Linked DNA regions of Homo sapiens: all the other regions are linked to region 1. Evidence: promoter capture Hi-C in human tissues and cell types (Jung and others, 2019). All regions are on one chromosome and are shown on one strand. The core of a region is centred on a gene start or on the middle of the fragment in contact, and the rest is flanking DNA. Distances in the headings are between cores, read along the strand shown.

Evidence for each region. Contacts are between HindIII fragments. The study calls those that stand out against the background at their distance.
Region 2: a contact is called between a fragment that was not itself captured here and the fragment with the promoter of OXTR in region 1, in 1 of the 25 tissues and cell types used here (mesenchymal stem cells).
Region 3: a contact is called between a fragment that was not itself captured here and the fragment with the promoter of OXTR in region 1, in 1 of the 25 tissues and cell types used here (thymus).
Region 4: a fragment that was not itself captured here is called in contact with the fragment with the promoter of OXTR in region 1 in 2 of the 25 tissues and cell types used here (IMR-90 fibroblasts and mesenchymal stem cells).

What each region holds. Positions count from the first base shown.
Region 1 is chr3:8,768,363-8,771,085 of GRCh38, reverse strand. It overlaps OXTR (oxytocin receptor), which reads left to right and starts at 1,473. Exons shown (of 4, transcript NM_000916.4): 1 at 1,473-1,855; 2 at 2,495-2,590. RefSeq lists enhancers at 1,309-1,358, 2,006-2,677. The HindIII fragment of the contact is 11,538 bases long and covers 1-2,723 here.
Region 2 is chr3:8,978,743-8,981,465 of GRCh38, reverse strand. It overlaps SRGAP3 (SLIT-ROBO Rho GTPase activating protein 3), which reads left to right. Exons shown (of 22, transcript NM_014850.4): 22 at 1-875. Among named protein-coding and RNA genes, the nearest start is that of RAD18, 17 kb to the right of the region's middle. The HindIII fragment of the contact is 6,143 bases long and covers 1-2,723 here.
Region 3 is chr3:8,958,896-8,961,618 of GRCh38, reverse strand. RAD18 (RAD18 E3 ubiquitin protein ligase) reads left to right here. Exons shown (of 13, transcript NM_020165.4): 2 at 2,618-2,699. Among named protein-coding and RNA genes, the nearest start is that of RAD18, 3.2 kb to the left of the region's middle. The HindIII fragment of the contact is 4,574 bases long and covers 1-2,723 here.
Region 4 is chr3:8,911,419-8,914,141 of GRCh38, reverse strand. It overlaps RAD18 (RAD18 E3 ubiquitin protein ligase), which reads left to right. Exons shown (of 13, transcript NM_020165.4): 8 at 422-498; 9 at 1,770-1,830. Among named protein-coding and RNA genes, the nearest start is that of RAD18, 51 kb to the left of the region's middle. The HindIII fragment of the contact is 9,414 bases long and covers 1-2,723 here.

The DNA.
Region 1 (2,723 bases), core at 224-2,723:
AGAAATAAAACAAAAGACAGGAAATGGGGATCACACTATTACTGTTGTTGTTATTGTTGTTGTTTAGATTAAAACTAAGTTAGAGAATTTACCTTTTGCATGAGACTAAATAGCCCTGTTAGGTGAATCCAGAATTAGGCTGTCTCACGGGCTACGCGAGGACCACACAGGTAGGCAGGCTTCCCTACAAAGGGTAGAAGAGTCTGTCCTTGGTGAAGTGGCTCAGTAAACTTGCTCCCTAGAAAGCAGCTGTCTTCCAGGAGAAAGAAGGGCAGGCTTGGTTCTACAGGCCAGTGTTTTCCTTCTCACATTCACCGGTCAGGGGCTCATAGGGAAAAATCTGCCTTCATCCAGCCGTGGAGTGAGGCAGGGGTGTTTTACCTGCTAGGATTGAACCCTCAGATTGCACAGATTATACAGTTTCAGAAAACCAGAGGGACAGGACCTCAGACATTAGCTATCTTGACCAGTGCTCTCATTTTACATATGAGGAGACTGAGGCCCAAAGAGAAGGGGCTTGCCCAAGGTCACTTCATTCTCACCTGAGTCGTCTGTAACTTTAATCTGTAATTTTCGAGGCCGATAGGTACTATTGACTAATATTGATTAATACTGCCTGCCACCCCTTGGCAATGCTGTCAAGATTCCCAGCCCCATTCTGGAATGATTACTCAGCTAGAACCCTGGGATCCAGGTGCTGTAAGGTTGGCCCCTGGGATATCTCGGCATGGGGCTGTAATTGTGGATTAAGGAAACCCAGTCCTTGGCTAACTCAAGTCTCTCCACATAATAAAAAGACGGAGAAGTGAAATGTCAGGAGGAAATACACATTTAATGCATTTTAAAGAGCCCTGTTTATTTTTGAATCCTGGCCTTTTTTTCTGACTTAATTCTTGGCCACTGTAAATTACTTCAAAAAATGATTTTAGAATAGAGAAGGGGCAGGGAGGCTGAGAAGCTGTCTTTAACATTTTATCTTCCTTTGGCATCATTTAGAATTTTAATTCCGAAGCGCGACAAGGAGGCAGAAACGGCTCTTGGGCGCAGACAAGCAGAATCACTTTAAATGAAGACAGTGTTGTGCTTCAGAATTTCCTCTAAAACTACCGAAAAAATAACGCCTCTCCCAGCACTGCTTAGAATAGAGGCCATTTCTAATTCCTCATTAACGGGAATAGGAACAAAAGTATTCCAAAGCAAAGACTTATTTGAGTTCACTGCTAAAGCCGCTACATCAAGCTGGAGGTGTGGGGGGAGAGAAAAGCCTGAAAATTAACATCATTTTTGGGAAATAATCAGTTTAAATGCTTTTGTAACTTCATCACTATCTACCCGGGGAAGAACATTATTATTCAAGCCTCCTATGTGTCTCGGAGTCAAGAGCTTCTAAACCAAGAAAGGAAGAAACGGGCGGGTTATTGACGAGTTCCCTCCCTCTCGCAGTTTTAAACCACTGCAAAATAAACCCATTTGTTAAGGCTCTGGGACCAACGCTGGGCGAACCAGCTCCGCTCCGGAGGGGTCTGCGCGGCTGGCCTCGCCCGCCCCCTAGCGGACCCGTGCGATAGTGCAGCCTCAGCCCCAGCGCACAGCGCCGCATCCAGACGCTGTCCGCGCGCGCAGCCTGGGAGGCGCTCCTCGCTCGCCTCCTGTACCCATCCAGCGACCAGCCAGGCTGCGGCGAGGGGATTCCAACCGAGGCTCCAGTGAGAGACCTCAGCTTAGCATCACATTAGGTGCAGCCGGCAGGCCATCCCAACTCGGGCCGGGAGCGCACGCGTCACTGGGGCCGTCAGTCGCCGTGCAACTTCCCCGGGGGGAGTCAACTTTAGGTTCGCCTGCGGACTCGGTGCAGGTAGCTGGGTGCTAAGCAGGGGTGGACGGGATGGCTAGGGCCGGTGGAGCCATCGGGACCCGAGTGGAGGTGGTGGGGTGCCTCGCACTCCTTGTTCCTGGAGGAGCTCGGGGTGTTCCGAGAGATTGTAAAGTGACTTCTCGGGATTGAGACTCAGAGTCCTTGATTATCTGGGTCCAAAGCGCAAGTCAGGGGTTCCAGAACTTTCGAGGCTGCCGGGCTGGGGAGGAGCCCCGCGGGAGGTGTCTATGCCAGGGTCTGGGAACAGCGCTTGGGCATCTTGGGCTTTGAGGCAGGGGTTCCCCCAGCAGGGACTGCAGAACCGGGTTTCCACCGAAGCAGGTGCTGTGGAAGTTCAGGGAGTGACGGCCGACCGTCTTAGAAAAGGGGGTTAGACGGGGAAGGACCAGAGCTGGGGTTTCCCAGGCAAGTGGCTATTTGGGGATTTCCGGAGGAAGTACTTGAATTAATGTTTACTAGGAGAGGGGCTGGTTTGGGGGTCCCGCGGCAGGTGGATATGCTGAGGGTCGGAGCCTGGGGCGAGTAGGTAGTTTGGAGATTCCCTCGGGGAGGTGATTTGGTTTTAGATTCCCACTCCCGGAGGAACGTTGCTGATTTTGACCCTCCCTTCTCCCCCAGTGGAAGCCGCTGAACATCCCGAGGAACTGGCACGCTGGGGGCTCTGGGCTTGTGGCCGGTAGAGGATTCCCGCTCATTTGCAGTGGCTCAGAGGAGGTACCTCCAACGGGGATTTCTGGGGTGGCGGCTGAGCAACCCGAGGCCGGCGGTTGTGCCCTGTTGTTTCAGATGAGTTGGGTTCCTGGGAATGGGACAAGCACGCCCTACCCGCGTCGGAAGAGAAACGCGG
Region 2 (2,723 bases), core at 140-2,639, 210 kb before region 1:
ATTCCTAACTTTTCACACATCCAGATGGTTCCACACTAGTGCAAATGCCTCACTCTCCTGAGAAACCCAGAAAGAAGAGTGGCTGGCTCACAACCATGGGGTTAGCCCCTGCTGGGCTGGGAGTCGGGGTGGCGGCCAGGAGGAAAGGCAGAAAGGGGTGAGCCGAGGTGTTGCCTAGCTGATTTTCTGCTGTGCAGAGCTAATGCTGACATTTCATGTCAACTTCCCCGGTTCTCTGGGGTCTCCTCTCCTCTGAGCAGCCACATAGAACATTCCCCACATATCCAAAGCTGCCCAGGGGAGCCGAGAGAAGGGACTTTGCTGTCAGGTCCAAGCCCTCCTGACCTCCCTGAGATTGATCTGCCAGTGTCCTGCTGTCCCTCTGGGACTGGCCACATGGCCATCGCTGCCCCTTGTTGACACCTCCTTTCTGTGTGAGTTGTCCCCGGCCAATAACAAAGCTGTTCCTTGAACCAGAACAACCAGAGTGCACTTTTCCTTCCTTAGACGGAAGTAGATCCTGGCTAGGGTTTCTGCCCAGGCCCTTGTTCCCGGCAGTGTGACTGTTTACATGGTTTGGCAATAGGTTTGATTCTGATTGCTTCAGAGTGGCTGGTCTATTTTGTTTCCTTTGGTTTCCTTCCTCCCCAAATTGTGACAGGAAAAACAGACCAAAACCACCCTAGGAAATTGCTGGTTGCCTGTCCCCACGTGATGATAAATGTTGCCCTCTTCTGGATATCGTTTCTCTACCTTACGACCAAACGCCCGTCCTATAGAGTGTCTGATTGGATCCTCTGTCGCGTATTCTGATGGTGCCTGCTGGTTTGACGTGGAGCTATCCTGTGAAATAAAACAGCTTAACTTTTCTCAAACATGCTCCAGTGGTTTTTGAAAGGGCGAGGTGGCACATCAGGGGTGGAGAGGTCCTGGGGGGAGTCCCCATCCTCCAGTCCACACTGTCTGCCTGCTTCCCCCAGGAAACACCTTTGAAATGTCCATTAGCTCAGATCCAACAAGATGAAGGTAAGGTTACAAGGAGGACCACTTCCATTGTAGAGCTAACTGAAGAAGGTAACTAACTGTAGGATGACTGCTGGGGAAAGAGGGTTTGGAAATGTCAAAGCAAAGGCAAGTTGGGAGTAGTAGCTGTCATCTGCAGAAAGTGTCTTCAAAAGTTTAAGATAAATTATCAGAGGCCACTGGGTACTGATACATCAAGGCACATGCAACATTTTGATGTTCATTGTCTACAAACGTCATATAACCTCTTGGACTTTTGTTTTTACCTGTGTGTGTTTGTGAACTGTTTATTGACCACTTATTTCTGTCCCAGCCACTAGATTAAACCCTTTACCTGTATTTTCTCATTTAATTCTCAATACACCATTGAAGGTAAGTATCATTATTATACTCTGTCCTGCAGATGAGGAAACTGAGGCTCTGAGAGGCTAAACAGCTTGCCCAAGGTTAGGCTAGGAAGTAGAGAAGCCAGAATTTGAATTCAGTCCGCCTAACTCCAAACCCATGCTCTTTATAAGTTTGTCATACTGCCTCTGATTTGAGCATTGTACTCATTACAGCAGGATTAGGGGCAGGATTTCATGATGAAGGTAGCTTGCTGCTTGCTGCAGTCAAGAAATACTCCAGGGCCTTTATATCCCACCAAGACTTTGTATCAGGGAAGAATACAAGTTGCCCAAAGGAGATTGTGGGGCTGCCCATGAAAAATAATAAATGGTGATGATTTTCAGTCTCTCTTTCTGATTAAACCTCTGCTGGATCTTCATGGAAGGGCCTCCTTGCAGCCTCAGTGACTCATTCCCACCAAAAATGCTCATCACTCAATGATGGTCTCTTGCGAATTCCAGACTCCTCTGCTATGAAAATGTCTTAGTCTATTTTCTGTTGCTGTAACAGAATAGAACAGACTGGGTAATTCATAAAGAAAAACAGCTTATTTGGCTCATGGTTCTGGAGGCTGGAAAGTCCAAGAACATGACACTAGCATCTGGCTAGGGCCATCTCATGGTGGAAGGCAGAAGGGCAAAAGAGACAGTGTGAGGGGCAGACTCTTTTATAACCTTCTGTCATGATAACAATCCCATGCCCATGGCAATGACATTAATTGATTCATGAGGGTGGAGCCCTCATGAACCAGTCACCTCTTATTAGGTGCCCTCTCCCAAGATTATTGCATTGGGTATTAAGTTTCCAACACATAAATTTGGGGGACACATTCAAACTACTAACCTTCTAAGAGGCTAAACTTTGTATGTGTTCCATAATCTGTTTACTTGCTCATAGCAACAGTACACATTTGAAAGCTTCAAATCAGGAGCCTCTCATTCATTCAACAAGCGTGTATGAAGCACCTTAGCACCTTTTTATGCAACTTGCCTCAAGTTAGCTGCTGGGGACACAGAATGATGAGCCCCAGTTCCTTTCCTCAAGTTGCATACAGTCTAATTGCACAAAATGATCACTCTAGAATTCTAAGATCGACTTTTACTCAATGATAAATAGAACAGTGTCTCTAACCCACAGAGGCACAAAGGGCAGATTTTAGCAACTTGACTATTTTGTCAGCCACAAAGCATAGACCATTGCTGGATTGTCCATTGCACATCTGTTTAGGAATTTTTTGTTTGCAAACGACAAACTATTCAACCCAAACAGCCCTAAGCAAAAGAGAATTTATTGGCTCACATGGGTGGAAACTC
Region 3 (2,723 bases), core at 179-2,678, 190 kb before region 1:
TGCTTGAACTCTTCCAGGCACAAAGAACTATCAGATCCCAGAAGCAGATCTGACTGAAGTTACTTCTTTTATTGAATAGAAGTCTGACTCAGAATCCATGGTTGCTAACTTAGGATTCACAGAAAGACTTTGGAGTCTCAAGTTATTTGTAAAATTTTTGCATGTATGTTTTTCTGAGCAGAGAGTCCATAGTTGTCATCCATTTTTCAAAGGGATCTGTAACCCCAAAAACTTAAGAGTATTTTTGTAATTATTACGTTTTTCCACCCATTTTCTACTTCTCCCTTTCACTTTCTCTCTCTCTAAACTAAAGAAATTTTGGGGAGTCTGCTGACCACTCTCTATTCAGGCATCATTTTTTGTTTAGTTGGTTGAGGCGCATGTGATATGCATGTTACTGTCTTGGAGTGACATGACAAGAAATTTGAACCAGAAATGGCTCATCTGATGTAGTGTCAACTTCCACAATTGTGCTCTGCAGATCTTTCAGAATCATTCCTCCACCAGAAGAGGATGGCATAGATAAGAAAGTGTGATATAATAGACTGGTTCTGGCTTCTGGGCCTGCCTCTGCTCTTAATTGATCTTGAACATAACCCTTTAGATTTTTGTGTCTGTGACAGCTTACCATCCACAATAATGGAAGATTTTGGCATTTTATTATTTCCCTGGTTTTACTTTAACAAAAATTTACTGTTTTTGGCATATTGTAAATGTAATATGTGTACACGGTAGAAAAAAATTAAAATTCAGAATAAGATAAAGGAGAAAAATAAAACCATCCATAATTCTACCACCCAGAGAACCAGTGTTTAACATTTTACCTTATTTTCCTTTGGTTTTTGTGCATTTAAAATTTGGGATCACTGTGGAGTCAACTTCTTGGGTTTGATCCAGCCAACTTAGGAACTCTGTAGACTTTATTTTTAAAATTGGGATACTGATGCTGTGGACTTCATAAGATTGCTATGAAGATTAAACTACAGAGTTGTTATTATTATGTATTATTGGCATAGGTTTGTTTTCTGATTTTTATTTTCCTAGGGCATTAATTATTCTTTGAAAGCATGTTTTTTAATGGCTGCATAATATTTCATCATATGGACCATTAGCGACATTAGTCCTTTTTTGTTTACATTTTTAAAATTCAGGTAATAGGTTCACATGGTTCAAAATACACATAAAATAAAAAGTAAAAGTCTCCTTCTTACCATGTTCCTGGCCCTGATCATTATTTATGACTTCTTGTTTATCTTCTCATTATTTACATTTACAATGAAAATAGAATGCATTCTTTTTTCCTTTTTTTCTTTTTTGAGATAGGGTCTCACTGTCGCCCAGACTGGAATGCAGTGGCAATCACGGCTCACTGCAGCCTTGAACTCCTGGGCTAAAGCAATCCTTCCGCCTCAGCCTCCTGAGTAGCTGGGACTACAGGCATGCGCCACTACTCCCAACGAATTTTTAAATTTTTTATAGACATGGATTTTTGTTATTTTGCCAGGCTGGTCTCAAACTCCTGGACTCAAGCAGTTCTCCTGCCTTGGCCTCCCAAAGTGCTAGGATTACAGAGCCACCATGCTAGGCCTATTAGAATACATTCTTACTCACCTCTTCCTTTTAAACAAACCGTAGCATAGTATATGTACTGTCTATACCTTATTTCCTTTTTTCACTTATCTTGGCAATCTTTTCATATCAGTATGATGGAGAGCTTCCTCTTTTTTTTTTTTTTTTTTGAGACAGTTTCACTCGGTCATGCAGGCTGGAGTATAGTGGTGCGATGTGGGCTCACTGCAACCTACGCCTCCTGGACTCAAGCGATCCTCCCGTCGAGAGCTTCCTCCTTTTAAAAAATATTTCTGTTGAATGGAATAATATTTTATTTTAAACAATTTGAAAGATTTTAGGTTGCCAGAGTAGTTCCGTTCCTGTTTGGATTGCATTCCAGGTTGGCACACATCTCTCTTTCCAAGTTGTCCACTTTCCCTTCCTCTGCTTTCACTGCCCCAGCTCTTTCCAGGCTTCCTCATTTGGCTGCATGTGTAGTACCATGCCGAAAGCACTGGACTGCCAGACGGGAGACAGGAATTTTGGTCTTGGCTTGACTGATGCCTACTATTGTGTGCCTGCTTTTGATACCAGTTTCCTCTTTTGACTAGACAGTTTCTGGAGTTTGGCTTTAACATTCTTTGATTTGATTCTTAACTTGTGTGGTGGCAATGGCCACCTTTCACCCAATAGTGACTATAGGCTAGGTGTTGGAGTCTGAAGAGGAGGAGGCTTGGAGTAAGAGCTGGAAGCGCATTAGAAGTGGAACAGAAGTACAGTAGCCCTTATGTGAAGGGATGACAATATGGCACAAGAATCGGTGTGCCATCATCTTTAGCTGTCTAAAGCAATTTGGGCAACCTGAGACTGAATGTATAAGAGTCATATGAGAGAAGTTTTTATTTATTTGTCAAGATCCCTTGCAGTTTATCTGGAGTTAGCTTTTGAATTTGTGTATTTGACAAAGAGTTTGATTTTTTTTTTAGGGGATAGAGAAAAAGTTTTGTGACAGGACTTCCAATTTTGATGTCTTTCTGATATGTATATATGCATATTTGCATTTCAGACAATAGATGATTTGCTGCGGTGTGGAATTTGCTTCGAGTATTTCAACATTGCAATGATAATACCTCAGTGTTCACATAACTGTAAGTATGTTTTGTTCCTGTGAG
Region 4 (2,723 bases), core at 127-2,626, 140 kb before region 1:
GTATTTGTAGACCTTTTTCTCTCCTTGAACAGTAGCCTGTTGTACTGCATTTAGTACATTGGAATTTGAGCAGACATCCCCTAATAATTGAACTCACACTAAAAAATTAATTTTCATATTTCACTGAGACTTCTGTTTAGACCTGTATATTCAAAGGAGAAAGCAAAATGACTTGACTCTTGTGGTTATACGTTGAACAGCATGTGCATGTGTAAGAGTTCAGTGTTTTAACTCCATGTTATTTTTTTAACCTTTTGTTTTGAAATGGTAATTGATTCACAGAAAAATTGTAAAAATAGATCAGGGAGTTCACATATACCCATCACCCATCTTCTTCTAATGTTAACAACTTAAATAATTATTGTACAGTGATTAAAAAAGACATGTGATTAACCTAGTGGTTATTTTCTTATTTTAACAGCTGCTGAAATAGTTCGAGAAATCGAAAATATAGAGAAGACTAGGATGCGTCTTGAAGCTAGTAAACTCAATGAAAGTGTATGTTAATGGGCTATTTCAGTATATGGATAGAAATGAAGAAAGTTTAATACCCTACAAAAATTAAAGCAAGCCATTATTAAATTTATTCATTTACTAACACATTTCCACTTAGTGTATTATGATTTACTTGCAACTCATTTTAGGACAATATTTGATTGTACTTAGCAGTCTTCTAGCACAAAATGCAATCCAAAGTAGAGTTTGTTCATGAGCTAGAGTTCTATAGAAAATGCCTGTGCCTGTGCATCAGGCAGCTTTGATATTGGTCCTTTCTCTGCTGGTTGTGTTTGATAAGCTACCTCTAAGGACCTCTAAGCTACTGCTAGGGACCTCTATGATCCCTTTTTAGCTCTGGCATTCTGCAATTCTATGATTATACTTATGGAAATGTTAAGTAATTATAAGAGGATAAATTAAGTAATTTGAGGATGGAATATTCTCTTGAGCTTTGGAGGGAATCAGAGACCTAAAATTCTTCACTGTTGCCTTCCACTAGCTTGATGCCCCAAACTTGAAGACAGGATACCAGTGAAGAAAATAGTCATTGTGTCCTGTGACACTGGAGAAAGTGTTTTGGTCTCTTCCAAGTAGACTTTTTTTTTTTCTAGGCCATTTGTAGTGTGTTTGTAAGGAGAAAGCAATGGTTACCTTAAGAAAGTAAGTTTGTAACCAAATAAGTAGGAAAAAAATGGGATTTACATTGACCCTATTATTACCTGTGTGCTAACTGTAAGATGGGAACTGCAGTGAATCATGGAAGCAGATTTCTGATCTTTTAAGTCTGAGGTTTAAAAAGTGGACCTAGAGGCTTAACTTACTGTGTTTTGTATTATTGCATTTTCTATACATACTGCTTTTCTATAATGACCTGGAGAAGTTAGATTGGAAAGGAGAGAAGGCAGACAAGAAGATCAGCCTTACTAATAGTCAGCTAAGTGTCGTTAGTCTTCTGGTTTCAAATATTGCCTGTTGTATTAATGAATGTGGGATATTAAATATTGAAAATAGAAAATTTATTATTTTGTTAATATATAATTGAATCATGTTGCATTTTCTACTGATGAGAAAAAATAATGAGTAAAATGTATACCATTTCTGGTATTTAAGGGAAGTACATAGGAATGATTCTTCCTAGGTCTATATAAAACAGATGAGAGATCATTTTCCTCTATTTTAAACACTCACATTTGAGATTTGAAGGTTTGTAATATTTCCCTTTTTGTCATTTTGGGGAGATTTTTATTAAGGTCTTTTTTTGATTATTTTAGGTAATGGTTTTTACAAAGGACCAAACAGAAAAGGAAATAGATGAAATCCACAGTAAATATCGTAAGTTGCACGACTTTATTTAATTTGTAAAGAGCTTCAGTTGCTGTTTTTCATCTTAAGTAATTTTTCAGAATAATGTTTTATATTAAGGTTCAATTCAAACTTTTGTTAACATTACTTAAGAGATTGAATTTTAATTGGGTGTTTACTTAGTGACTTTTTTTGTATTTTATATGCCTGCTTTTTGATTTTTATGACTAGCATTCTACTTTGAGCTTATCACTAAGCACTTTGCAAATATTAATTAGCTGCTCTCAAAGCATTTCTGTGAAAAGAAGCTGGGATTAAAATGGAAACATTCGGGACTCTATCCTGTCCTCAGGCCACTCAGTAACAATACTTCTGTATAGGATTTCAATGCTTCTATAGCTTGCAAATTTGTGCCAAAAATAGTTTTCATTTTATTGCTTGTTAGCAACCTCCCAACTTTATCACTTCCTTTTCCTTAAATGGTCTTCGTGTATATCTTTCCCAGGGCTAACACATTACTGTTTTGTCAGATAGCTGTTACTCTTTGTGTGGTGGTTGGATTTTAGTTTAAATTTAAGTGCCTGACGAACAGTAGATAGTTAATAGATGTTCATTGAATCAGTATTCCCAGGCATGGTATGTTTTAATTGAGGTAAGATAATTTTTTTCTCTCTTCATTTCTTAAACTCTGAAGGGCCAGGTTCTGTAGTGATGTATTGTGGGAGGGAGGATGAAGCACACCTGCGCTGGATGTAGGTGTGATTGCCTGTGCCTTGCTAGAGTAGGAAAAGGACCCTAGAGGAGTCTTGGATTATGGACTGAACAACAAAAGTCACCATTGTTCTGTTGCTGGACAGATAAGTATGATGTGAACCTCTTTGATCAACTTGTAGGATGTCAGAGTGATTTTTCTTTAGAAAGGA